Linked DNA regions of Homo sapiens: region 2 is linked to region 1. The links are contacts of gene promoters, found by promoter capture Hi-C in blood cells and fetal thymus (Javierre and others, 2016). All regions are on one chromosome and are shown on one strand. The core of a region is centred on a gene start or on the middle of the fragment in contact, and the rest is flanking DNA. Distances in the headings are between cores, read along the strand shown. Region 1 holds the start of ITPRID1 (ITPR interacting domain containing 1). Region 2 has its middle 41 kb from the start of PPP1R17.

Region 1 (7,046 bases), core at 1,152-3,651:
GTGTACAGTGGAAAAGCTTTATACCTGTCCATGTTATTTGGGGGATGTTGGCTTTATGCCTATATCCCCCAGTGACAAAATCTCTCTGACAGGTGACTGGAAGGTTGAGATGCTGAGCATGGCACTGGGCCAGAAATAAGATTACGATATCACTTATTTCATGGCCTGTAGTCCATAGTCTTCCTAGAAATGATCAAAAAAGCAATACTGATAGAAGAAGCAAATTCAGGACAAACAGGCCATCCAAAAGAGACATGATATTTCAGGTTGCTACTAGAGAGGAGGAGTCCAAGTAGATCCAAGAGACAGAACCTGGGAAAACTAGGTGAAAGCAAGAGAAGTCAAAGTCAAGGTGAAAGGAAGCAAGCCAAGTTTTAAACAACCTGTCTCTAATGATCTGGTCAGGACATTAGAGAAGGCTAAGGAAGATGGGCACTGGATCATCTAACAGTCACTGGGAGGCTGTGGAAATTGGTTAGGATTTTCTGGGGACCAACAGTACAATTTACTGTCTGTGGACAACACTATTGTAAGGAAATGTGCTCAAGGCACTATGATCTTATAAAAAAGATATTCACTGGGAAGCTATGGAAACTGGTCAGGATTTCCTGGAGACCAACAGTACAATTTACTGTTTTTGGATGACTCTATTTTAAGGAAATGTGCTCAAGGCACTATGATCTTACACAAGGATATTCAGGCTTGAAGATAGAAACATGAGTTGTAGTTCAGGTCATGTGACCTTGGGCAAAGAAAGTCACCTCTCTTAAGCTTTAGCTTCTGACATGTTAAATGTAGGGGAGAAAACAAAACAAGATTCCTGCTCGAGGTATCCCACAGGTCTTTAGAAACAAAACGAAACAAAACAAAACAAAGCATAACAAAATAATAGATATAAAACCACTTAATGAAACTTCAAAGCCAGTAGTAATAGAGCAAATTATAGTCATTAATGCGACTTCGCTGGAGGAAGAAATGTTAACAATAGAACATACTTGCTCTTTCAAGTGTTTGCCAGTTTGTGGGAACAGGGAAATAAGGATGGAGGTCTGACCTAGGAATAAAATTACCAATTCATTCTGTCTTCCTTTCAGGGTTCTTATGACAATTAACTTGCCAAGATTCAACCGCAAGACCATATGTTGCTGAGATCACATGGGGAGATGAGATTTCTTTTGATTATTTGTTTGTATTAACATTATTAGAATAGTGCTTCATTTATTACACTGGCCCAAATTCAATCTGTCAGGAGGGTTCCCAGCACATGAAGGTATAAAAACACTCTCAAACGCAAGTGGTTTTCTCAAATAGGAGAACCCTAAGCTCACCTCCTCCTCAGACCTTGTTAGCAATCGCCTGTGTCCTTAGGCAGGATGATACTCACACTAATGATAGGTGAATGACATTCACACTGATAACAGGCCTGAACCGTTCTAAAGTATTGAACATCCTTTTGAATTGTGAAAGGAATATTAATGTGCAGTAATGACAGCCTTAACATTTAATGTATTTTAATGATTCTAATTATTTGGAAGTTGGTAATCAGTGTCTTCACTCAAGCTAGGTCATTTGATTAACCAGACCACCCATTTTCTGAGCACACAGAACAATTAGATATACATTAAACTACTTCCACCAATGCTTCTCGTTCTCAATTACAAACAATATGCTGCATTCAGACACTAAAGTGTAGAATCATTATAATACCCCCATCACAGTTATTATTTTCTAAGTCATAAGTTAGCCCATCAGACAACACTTCTGCTTCTTCAGTCTCATCTCTCTCTTTTGTTTCCATATAGTCTATGTTTCAGCCACACAGACTTCTTCACAATTCCCTGAATGTACCATTCTGTTGGCTAATTTTGTGCATCTTGTATATGGTGCTCTGTTTGCCTTCAATGTCCTCCCCACAGCCCCAACCCTATTCAACCCTCGTTCATCAGGAAAGTTCCTATTCGTGCTTCAAAACTCATCACAGGCATTATCCCCTGGGAGAGGGCTTCCCAAATTCCCTATGGATAACTCATCACCTCTCCCTCTGTGGCCTCAATATTCCTCCACGGAAGTTACTAGTTGTTTTTACACTTGTGGCCCTAAAAGGCTGCACGTTCTTAGGGGGAGAGGAAAGCAATTTGTTCATCTTCACATCTCCTTTTTCCAGACGAGTGTCTGGCATGAAGTAGAGCTTATAAAATCCTGAGGGTCCGTGAATGCTGGAAGTCTCTTTCAGTCTGATTTAGTTGTCTGAAGGTGCCATTCTGTCGCAGGCTTCTGTTTTGATTGTTTCCTGATCCCTTTGGATGAGGAAAACAGGTTTTTCCTTAGGACAATGGGTGTGGATTATGAAAATGTTATGCAAGATTAGTCAAATGCTACACTGTTTCCTTCAGGAACTTTCAGATGGCTCAGGAGTGGAGCTTTTGTGGCAGGTGGGTAGAGGCTGCTGGAGGGGGCTTTCATGATCATCTGCTTTGAGGGATAAACATTGCTTGTCCCCTCCTCCAACTAAGGAAGGTAAGACTGTTTATCAAAAACTTTTGTATGTGTGTGCTCTAGGAACCTAAATATTCTCCATGATCATTTCAAAAAAGGGACACAAAACGTTTACCTTCTTCTCTCCCTCTAGATTGTAACCTAGCTAATAGGCTTCCTTTAAATGCAGGTGAAATTGATCAGACTGAAGTTGTTAGAATCAAATAAAATAATGTTAAATGCTGTTGGTGATAAAGGAGTTGAAATGTAAGAAGGAATATTGAGTATTGGCCATTTCCTGGATGGGGGCAGAGGAGAAAAAAGCTAATCTGGAGTTGTGGGGGCTAATAATTGACAATTAAATATTGTGGTTTTGAGAGCTAGCCAATTCCAGGGAATGAGGGAGAGAGAGAGTCCAGCAGGTAAGTACAGCTTATAAGCACGGTGTTGCTCCATTTCTAGTTTTCAGCTAGTAATATTTTTGTGTGAGGATATCGCTCCAGTATAATTTGCAAAATGCCACAAGTCAGAATAGTATGTTGGTACTTCAACTTTAACAGATATATGTTGCTAATGAATAAGATGTGTTAAATACTAATGAAATTGAATGTTCCAACCAGACTAGATAGCATATTTGCACATATATATACACAAATAGATATATAAATTGCTTTATATATACTATAAACATGAATTTTATGTAATATATAAAGGTTAATATTTTACATAATATATATAAAATAAAAGCAATTGTGTTTTTAGCAGGTACCTTTATTAAGTCATTCACAGCTCCCTCTCACTTCTCCTGGTTCAGACCTGAGAGCCTGGCCCATTTCAGTAACAATTTTAGGGGAATTGACAGAAGAGAAGAAAGTGGTGATTTAGTAATTATCTATTCTTATTGGATAATATATAGCTAACTCATAACTTTACCAGACCATTTTCCTAACTCCTCTAAGGCAAGAGATCAAGAAGTGGGAGAGTTTGGAGGAAAAGTTTTGCTTTTTAAAAAAATTGTTATAGGAATACCTTTTCATTCCTTTCCACTACTTCTCCACTAGAAAAATACATGAACTTATAAAGGCAATGAGGGAAATGCTCTGCTTTCTACAGCAGTGGTTAAAAAAAAAAAAAGAAAAAACAGAGAGAAACAAGTTGTGGTATGTCCATGCAATGGACTAGTATGTAGCCACTAAAAATAAGTCAAATGGAGACCAGCCTGACCAACATGGAGAAACCCCATCTCTACTAAAAATACAAAATTAGCTGGGTGTGGTGGTGCATGCCTGTAATCACAGCTACTCAGGAGGCTGAGACAGGAGAATCGCTTGAACCTGAGAGGCAGAGTTTGCAGTGAGCTGAGATATCACCATTGCATTCCAGCCTGGACAACAAGAGCAAAACTCCGTCTCAAAAAACAAAACAAAACAAAACAAAAAAGAGTCAAATGTATCTACTTGGACATACCATGATGTCCAGTACGTGAAAAAGCCCAGAGGACAAGGATTGGCAACAACTTGATGTGATTATTACATTGTAAGATTGAAAACGTAGGGATATGAATTTTCACTTAATTTTATACACATTGTATTGTTTAAAATGTTTGCAATGAGCCAAAATGATATATTTCTTATCTACAGAAAGAATGATGGAAGGAGGGAATGTGAAGAGAGAATGAGAACAAGAGAATGAAGGGAGCAGGGAACAAGCAGCTCTCCAAAATGTTGTGAAGTTTTAACGAGGCTGAGCTTCTGTTTCATATAAGATGATAAAAGTACTGTGTTAGGAGAAGAAACAGGCTAGATATTTGTACCTTTCATAATAGTTTTTTTTTGCCAACAAAATATTAGGTTATTAAACATTGACCTTGCAGCAAATTAAATATGGTATTAACCACATTAATGGTTAATAAATAAATATGGTATTAATGCCCAACTTGGACGAATTTCAGTGAATCACAGAGACACATAGGATTGGGTGAGGAAAGGAAAGAGAATAAGGCTAGAAGATTAATAATAAACCCTCTTTGTAAAACACAGTATATAATGTGCATAATCACCTGGATGTCTTATTGCACATTTAGGTTTGTTGAAGGTTTCTGCGTGTGTGTGCATGTGTATGTATGTATGTGTGTACTATTGGTTCTGGGAAATATGGAAAATATTTTCAGAGAAAAGAACTAATATATCAAACCTTAGACTCTATAAAAAGCTGACCCAAATTATACAATCTTGTTTATTATTTCAACTACATGTACAAAATTCAATTATGACTCTTACTGTCTAATTTAAAACACCCTTGATATCCCGCAAATCTCAGAGAAATCCCAGGGAGGGTAGTAGACAATGTGGCTGAGTTAGAGATGCCATAGCTCAGGAAGAGAAACGGCTTGCTCTAACAGACACAGATAATAGTTGGCAGCACCCAGATTTGAATGTAAGTCTGTCTTGCCAAAGCTTATAAACTTAAAAAAAAAATTGTCTGAATACAAATAGTACATGCTTAGATAAACTCAATTAGAGCCTATGTGTCCATTTGCACTTTCTACAACAGAAGTTTTTAACAGAACCTCCAAAGTAGTGACTTCTCTGTGACAAGATGTGACTGGTACCAGAAATGTCTTTCTCAGAAGTTGCTGTGATATTGTGGCCAGAAGTGGTGGGTTCTCGGTCTCGCTGACTTCAAGAATGAAGCCACAGACCCTCGTGTTAAGTGTCACAGTTCTTAAAAATGGTGTGTCCAGAGTTTGTCCCTTCTGACGTTCGGACCTGTCCGGAGTTTCTTCCTGCTGGTGGGTTTGTGGTCTCACTTCGTGGTCTGGCTGACTTTAGGAGTGAAACTACAGACCTCTACCGTGTTACAGCTCTTAAAACTGGTATGAACCCAAGGAATAAGCAGCAACAAGATTTATTGCAAAGAGCGAAAGAAACCACCATTCCCAGAGAACAAAGCAAACCTAGCAGATTTCAGGTTTTGGTTCGGGTGGCCTGCTTTTATTCCCTTATGTGGCCCCACCCACATCCTCCTGATTGGTCCATTTTGCAGAGAGCTGATTGGTCCATTTTACAGAGAGCTGATTGGTCCATTTTACACAGCGCTGATTAGTCCATTTTACAGAGAGCTGATTGGTCTGTTTTGGCAGAGTGCTGATTGGTGCGTTTACAAACCTTTAGCTAGACGGAAAAGTTCTCCAAGTCCCCATCCTCCCAGAAACCCAGCCGGCTTCACCTCTCACCAACAGTGGCTGCGGGACTTTCCAGCACCTAGCCTGGGCATTCCCACAGCCCAGAGGGAGCTCGTCCCAGACAACCAAGAGGAAAAGAAGGGAAACAAGAAAGAGATGGAGACCCATCATTGTGGCCAACGACCCCACGAAGAGGGAATAGCGGTCCACGCACGGGACCCAGCCTCCGATCAAGCCCAGCAGGCGCCGGGTGCGCCTGTGCTGGGAGGCAGAGCCCACGCCCACCCGGAACCGCGCCGGCCAGCGAGGTCCGTGCGCAGCCCCGGCTGCCGCCTGCGCTTCTCCCTCCACACCTCACCGTTAGCAGAGGGAGCCGGCTCCGGCCTCAGCCAGCCCCAGAGACAGGCCCCCACAGCACAGCGGCGGGCTGAAGGGCTCCTCGAGCGTGGCCAGAGCAGACGCCGAGGCTAAGGAGGTGCCGAGAGACAGCGAGGGCTGCTAGCACATTGTCACCTCTCAATACTGGAACTCAGAATAAGAGGTCTCCACTGTTCTGAGTTATGGGAGAAAGATGGGTGTATGGTAGACAGAATAGTGCCTCCCCACAACAAAGATGTCAACATGTTACTGTGTGTGTTAAAAGGGACTTTGTAGGTGTGAGTAAGTTGAAGATCTTGAGAAGAAAAGATTATCCTGGGTTTTTTGGGTGGGGCCAATGTCATAAAAAGGTCCAGATAAGAAAGAGGCAGAAGAGTCAGGGTCAGAGGAGGAGCCATCATGATAGGAGCAGAGAAGCAGAGTCAGGAGAGTTGATGCTACACTGCTAACTTTGAAGATGAAGAAGCCACGAGCTATGGAATGGAGACAGCCTCTGAAAGGCAAGGAGATGGATTTCCTTTAGAGCTTCCAGGAAGGAGTGCAGGCCTGCTAACAGATACGTTTTAGCCCAGTGAGACTAATTTTTAGACTTCTGACTTCCAGGACCGTAAGGTAATAAATGTGTGTTGCCTAAAACTACTGTTTGTGATAATTTGTTATACCAGCACAAGGAAACACATATAAACTATAATAGGCTCTTCTAGGTGAACTCGATGTTTCAAGTGATCAGGGTCCACGGGGAATAGGAATTGGATAGCTGGAGAATGTTGCTGAGTGAGAGATGGCAGAGTCAATGATGTTGGAAGGCCCTTTGAGTTTGACCTTGAAGTGCATAAACCATGAATTATGATTTTCCATCATTCTTCCTTAATCTCAGGTCCAAGGAAAAAGCGGTATAATTAGAATGAAACACATGTAGCAATATACTCACTTTATCGCACGGGTATTTTCTGTGTATTGTAGAAAAATCTAAAAAACAATTCTAACAAGGTCTCAGGAAATAATTATC
Region 2 (7,046 bases), core at 2,751-5,250, 210 kb after region 1:
TCATCCGAAATTCTGATCTGACAGCCAATCCAAAGCATCTCCCACCTGCTGTCAACCTTATGGGGGAAGGGCATTGATCGTTCTTTCCCGATTCTTGCTCATTCTTTCCTTAGCCCAGTGCCCCACAGCCCAGGCTCTGATTCTTCATAGAAATTATAACTAGAAGTTTCTAGTAGGAAAGACTGAGAAACCTGCTAAAGTGTCTTATGACAGGAAATAGCAGCTCTAAATATCTGCCCCATCCAGAGAGCACAATATCCTCTTCAAAACTTTTTTCTTTTCCCAACAGCTTTCTCCAAAATACCTTTCCTCTTGGCCTCTGGACTTTACTCTTTGATAGACATATAAGGTGGGCTGTGCGCTAAGGGTTGCAAAACTGTTTTGGGACCGCCCTTTCTGAAAGTCTTATATCGGTGAATTAGCACTCTGGAATGCAGGGGTATGTGCCAAGTATTGTTTTTGCTTTCTTTGTGGAGCCTCAGCCCATACAGAGACAGGAAAATACCATTTAAAAATCCTATGCCATGGGCTACTATATATAAAACACAGGGCATATGGTAAGCATTTAAGGGTTCCCTTCATTCCTTTGGACCTAGCACAGACTTGTCTGGGAAAAGTGTAAGCCTTGCCACCCTCATCTCCCACTTGTGTTGCACAGCAACACCCGCCACCTTGCCACCCGCATCTCCCACTTGTGTTGCACAGCATCCATCTCTCCAGGACCACAGGGGTCTCTGTGGCCTGCACAAAGATGATCCTGATGGCCATCGGGAGGTACTGGTAGGTATGAAGGGAGCTCTCTCTACATTGCTGCTTTCGTCAGCCACAATACAGGCAAACAACAGTGGCCTTGGCCCTAAAAATGAGTCCTCACAACATGATTTATTGCAATTTCTGGTAAAAGACCATCAAAAGGATGAGACCCAACCAACTTTTTTGGCATGAAAAACTTGTGGCAGCTAAATGGGGCATTTCTTACCAAAAGGAGAGCTACAACTGAGAACTTCCTGAGCTCACCCCAAACATAGACCCTGGGATGGTGATGTTTGTCTACCAAATTATGAAATGCTAGCAGATCACTTTGTCCATTTGGTTCTAAGGACTGTCCATCAGGAGTGAGGGAACACTCATCAACAATCTTTGAATGTTGAAGTAAAAAGGGATTGGATTGTTATCAGTGCCAGGTTCCTAGTGTGATAAGGTACTATAGCTATGCAAGATGTTACCACTGGGGGAAACTGGGTGAAGGGTATATGGGATTTTCTCATATTACTTCTTACAGCTGCTTATGTATCCACAATTATCTCAAAATTAAAGTTTTTTAAAAAGGATGGGAGATAATCAAGTTTAATGCCTTCTATTTTTTGGTTTGTTTGTTCTTACTAGATTTAGAGTTATATCTAACTACCCTTTACAGGTTACTTTTTCTTACAGAAGCAAAGTCTGTTTTAAAAAAGAGAGAGAGAAAAATCCCAAAAAATAGGAAGAAAAACAAAAGTAGAACAAATTATGCTTACTTCTACTTCATGAATTTGATGATGGTATACATTTTGGTGTATTTGTTTTCACGTGACTTTTACAGAGTTAAAAATAATACTCTTTTTGTTTGTCTTTTATAGAAATAGGGTCTCACTCCATTGCCTTGGCTGGCGTCCACTGGAATGATCATAGCTGACTGTAGCCTCAAACTCTTGGACCCAAGCATTTCTCCCGCTTTAATCTCCCAAGAAGTTAGGACTGCAGGTGTGCACCAACATGATCATTTTTTTTTTAATTTTGTAGAGATGGGGTCTTGGTATGTTGCCCAAGCTTGTCTTGAACTCAAGTGATCATCATACACTGGCCTCCCAAAGTGCTGGGATTATAGGTGGGAGCCACTGCACCTAGCAAAATAATACTCTTAATATTGTACTTTTGTATATTTAATTTTGTATTATGGCTTTTAAAATTAACAATTGAGAAAGAAAACAGCAGCCTCTTATATTGGGGGCTGGCCAGGCATTCACAAGCAGGCCTTGGCATTCTCCTGCTGAACAGGAACAATTTCACAGAACACAACCGTCAGACAAGGCCACTCTGTGTCCATGATATGGACCTAAACAGAAATAAGACCATTCGTAGTCATGTCTGATCACAGACAAAACACAAACATTCTCCAAACCACAAAATAACCAAAGAAAGTATCCCTCATCTTGGCCAATATGAGTGACTGTTGTTTCTCTATCAATTACAGCTTTAGCTTCAGTCTAGTCTTCCCTCCTAGGTAAGATTTATTAAGATGTGGCCAGGCACAGTGGCTCATGCCTGTAATCCCTACATTTTGGGAGGCTGAGGCAGGTGGATCACCTGAGGTCAGGAGTTCGAGACCAAACAGGCCAACAGGATGAAGTCTCATCTCTACTAAAAATACAGAAAATTAGCTGGGTGTGATGGCAGGTGCCTGTAATCCCCAGCTATTCGGGAGGCCTGAGGCAGGAGAATCACTTGAACCCGGGAGGTGGAGGTTGCAGTGAGCCAAGATCATGCCATTGCCCTCCAGCCTGGGCAACAAGAGCAAAACTCTGTCTCAAAAAAGAAAAAAAAAATTAACAAAAAAAGATGCTCAGTCTTAGAATTCCCCTTATTTTCTGGCAGCATCCAATTCAGAACAAAGCCATAGTCCTCAAAGCCCTTTCCAAATAATTCATCACAAGCCCAAATTCTGTAAGTCCTTTCTAACACCTTACTGAGACGCCCCACAGTTCTCTGTGGTGCCCATTCTCCCTTGCTGCAATGAGTAATAAGCTTAGCTTGTTCAACTACAAGTGTGTTTCTGGTGGCCTTTTGCTGGAGGGCATTGAAACAAGATTATAAACATTCAACTGAGCTATGGCACATGCATCTTCATTCTCCTTTTTAATAGTTGCATTATGTTCCATTCAATGAATGGCCCATAGTTCATTTGACTCTAATGATAGACCTTCAGTTATCCTTCAGGTTCTCCATTTTGTAAATACCACTGTGACATGCACCTTCTTACATAAATATTTCTGGTGATTTCCTCAGGTAAAATTAATAGAATTCCCAAGACAAATAGTTGGACATTTTTAAGGCCTTTGATGCATATTGTCTCTCTCTTCATTTTATAGAGGAGGAAACTGAGAAACAGATGGAAAATGACTAGTCCAAAATCAATAACTATCTAATATCAGGTTCAAGACAAAGATTTCCTGACTCTAAACACAGCTTTCTTTAATTTTTTTAGACTACAATGGGAGATGTGTGCATATAAATCAATAAATTAAGAGTTTCAGCTGGGCACGGTGGCTCATGCCTATAATCACAGCAGTTTGGGAGGCCCAGGCAGGAGGATCACTTGAGGTCAGGAGTTCAAGACCAGCCTGGATAACATAGTGAAACCTCGTCTTTACTAAAAATACAAAAAAATTAGCCGGGCGTGGTGGCATGCACCTATATTCCTCACTACTTGGGAGGCTGAGGCAGGAGAATCGCTTGAACCTGGGAAGCAGAGGTTGTAGTGAGCTGAGATCTCACCACTCCACTCCAGCTTGGGTGACAGAGCAAGACTCCTTCTCAAAATAAATAAATAAAAGTTTTATGTGATATCCACTTAAGGTTGATTTATAGTCACTGAGATTATAGGGACCCAACATGGGGTAAATCCTGTGAGCAGTTCTCAGCCATGCTGAGGTTCTCTGAAACCATCTTGCACTCAAGTCTCTCAGGCCACTGCGGACAAGGATCCTTCCTAAGTGCTTTGGGTGCGTAGGTCCTGTAGGTACTAATCCTAGAACCTGTGGGCCCAAGGGAGCCTAGAGCTGCCATTTGTCCTCTGGGAAAGAAAACAAGCCAGCATTTCTCTAATGGGTGAAGACAACCAGGCCCATAAGGTGCAACCAATCAGTCCCAGGGAGACATGAACCTGTTTCTTCCATTGGCTAATAAGAGTCATTCCCGGCCAACCAAATACCCAAAGTAAGAGAAACGCAACATTTGTTTTATCCCCCTCTGTTTTTGCCTATGCTGTTTTGGAAGCTATTTCATAGTCTTTATAGCCAGTTTTCTATTCCTAAGTTCTAGAACTTATATTCATTCATGTGTTTATTCCCTCATTCCTCAGGTATTTGTGGATTGTTTTCCGAGTACTGAGGATATAGAGATAAAATAAGACATGATTCCAGCCTTCCCTGAGTTCACACCATCCTGGAGGAGGCTGTCATGCAAATATTGACAGCCTACTCTGCCTAGAGTTAAATATATGTCAGTCCTGGAACCCCAAAAGCAGGAGGTAGAGTTAAGTCCTGCCAGGGAAGTCTTAGAGGAACTCACAGAGGTGACATTTGAGCTTTGTTTTAGTAATTTAGCAAAGAAAGAGAGTATGGAAAGAAGAAAGAGAACATTTTAGAGCTAAGGCTGAGTAAGTACAAAGAGGGGTGGAAGTGAAAGAATATATTCTGCACCCAATGGGGCTAAATCTTTCCAGTCTAGAGCCCAGACTTCTTGCCTTGTAATCAGGTAGAACTGGTTCAATTTCTGGCTGCATAGTGCAGATGATATTGGACCTTAGGCAGGTGTCTTTACCTCTTTGGAGCCTTGCCTCCCCATCAGAAAAATATAAATGATAAATACAGGCTGTGTTAGGTTATTACGAGGACCAAATGTAAAAACAAATGCGTAAGTTTTTAGCACCAGGCCTGACATTTTAAAAAGCACAAAATAAACAATAAAAGATTTTCAGTAAAAGTTTTGTTTCTTTGTTCTTCCACTTGGGCCGTTCTGGGAAATACCCTGCTCAGAGAACCACAGTGATGAGCCTTGTGTGAGGTTAGCTTAGCTTACATGAATTCCATTTGCTCTTTATCGAAGGCTCTGCTCTGGAAGTAGTCACAAATCTTACAAAAACTCAACTGTTAATATAGCACAAGCCTGAAGAGGGGGCACTTACTGAGGACCCAGTGAGAGGAAAAAAGCAAAACGTCTTGCATTGTGTAAAACCTATTTTCCCAGTTGCATTGCATTTTACCTTTTTAAATTTAACAATAGCAGTAAATTTAACTTCAGCATTACCTGCTGACTCTGAATCTAAAGTACCTAGTAGGTGACTCACCTGTTTCTCTCAAGGAAGAGCCACTCACATCAAGTGTATTGGAGAAAGGCAGGGCTACAACCTACCTGATTCACACTGAGAATGTTGACTGCACACCAGGCCCAAATTGTAAGCTTAGTCCAGTAAGGAATCAGGGTCAGGTAATGAAGTGGGTTTGGGGTTAGTGTTGAATCTTGAGAGATCTTCTCCCTTTAACCCAGGATCTGTAACTACTTGGGGCAAGTTTTTCTGATTGAGTCCACTTGGGGAAGCAAAATATTTTAAACTATTCTCAGGAGCCTTCTGTAGACAAAGCATGAAGACACAATTTGAGGGGCCAAATATACTTCCAGGAAGGACACGTGGTATAACAGGGAACTTTGGAATGAGACTCATGGGGTACAAGTATCAGCCCCGTCACTCACTAGCTATGTCTTCTGTGGCAAGTTACTCTACCTCTCTTAGCATCCATGTCTCCATCTATACAATGATTTGATGCACCTTCCTCACCTGGTTGATCTGACGAGTAAGTGAGATCATGCATTTAAAGCATCTGATTCCCCTAGACGTTAATTCAGTCTTGGTTTACCGTCCTTTCCCATCATATTCCTCTTGGTAGCTGCGAACGTGTTTACACTAATTAGGTAGTTCACCAATAGATACTGTGTTGCACAAACCTACACAGCACAGACACACACACTCACATACCCAGATGTCAGCCTTTCAGCTCAAAAGACATATTTCAGGAATGCTGACCTCCATCTCAGCTCTCAGGTTCAGTTTCTGCTCTCTTCCCTCTGCCGTCTCCTCATTCCTGCACCAGACTTCCAGGGTCACCTCAGGGCCACTCGTGCTCTGCAGTGTCATCCCAGCCACCCTTCCACTACATCTCAGCCTCTCTAACCTCCCCACTGGAAACTAACCAGGGTGTTTGTCTCAGTCTGATCTGATTCCATCCATCTGAGAATTGCCCCTGTGCAGTATGGGAAAGAAAAGCAGGCCTCCAGGTTAACTCAGTTAAATAAACATTTACTAAATGCCTTTTTATTTTTCCGGTTGGAAAGTGAATCCTACTCTGTGCCAAGTACTTTATTAGGTACTGCAGATATAGAGGTTGAGTCGTTTCTGTCCTTGATGAGCCAGGGAAGACAGTCATGTCAATAAATAAGCACAAGCCTCTGTAATAAATGCAACCATGGCTATGCATCGGAGACACAGAAGTCACACATGAGATAGTCGGGTTTCTTCTGCTTGGAAGGAAGTGAGTGGATGGAAGAAATGTAAAGATAAGATGACAAGTCTGAAAAAAGGGTTTGAAGGATGAACAAAAGAGGAAAGCACACTGCAGACAAAGGAAGCAACAAAAAATGGACCTAAAATATCCCAATAAGTCAGAAAAATCTAACTACTGGATCAGAAGACACAAGGAGAGAAGGAGAGTCAAACTAGAAAATTTACAGATAGGCAAATCATGGAGAGGGGGGCGGGTTCCCAAGCTACGTGCAGGGGGAAGTGACCTTCCTTGCCCCATCAAGAAGAGACTTTGAATGTTATCATGAGAAGGAATGATGCCGTGTGACTTCTGTTGCAGAAGCTCATAGAAGCTGGAGGTGGGGGTGGTATGTTGGGATCAAGCCCTGAGGGAGGCGGGCAGGGAAAATAGGAAGCACACCTCACCAAGCTCACAGGAACCCGCAGGACCCGTGTAGGTGCCAAAGTGGGGCTGAGGATCAACTGGCCCGTTCATTTAGCTCTTCAGGAGCCCTAGCCAATCACTGGCTAGGAACCACCTCCTAATATCATTAAGTACAACATTGGGGTGAAAGGCAGGGAATTGGCACTTTTTTTGAGAGAGAGAGAGAGTCTCGCTCTGTCACCCAGGCTGGAGTGCAGTGGTGTGATCTCAGCTCACTGCAACCTCCGCCTCCCCGGTTCAAATGATTCTCCTGCCTCAGCCTCC

What was found. Contacts are between HindIII fragments. The CHiCAGO score rates a contact against its expected background, and 5 or more counts as called.
Region 2: a contact is called between a fragment that was not itself captured here and the fragment with the promoter of ITPRID1 in region 1, in 1 of 17 cell types (monocytes). The highest score is 5.8, in monocytes.

The regions. Positions count from the first base shown.
Region 1 is chr7:31,511,689-31,518,734 of GRCh38, forward strand. It overlaps ITPRID1 (ITPR interacting domain containing 1), which reads left to right and starts at 2,402. Exons shown (of 15, transcript NM_001257967.3): 1 at 2,402-2,432. The HindIII fragment of the contact is 4,160 bases long and covers 770-4,929 here.
Region 2 is chr7:31,724,469-31,731,514 of GRCh38, forward strand. It overlaps a transcript of PDE1C not described here. Among named protein-coding and RNA genes, the nearest start is that of PPP1R17, 41 kb to the left of the region's middle. The HindIII fragment of the contact is 2,436 bases long and covers 2,783-5,218 here.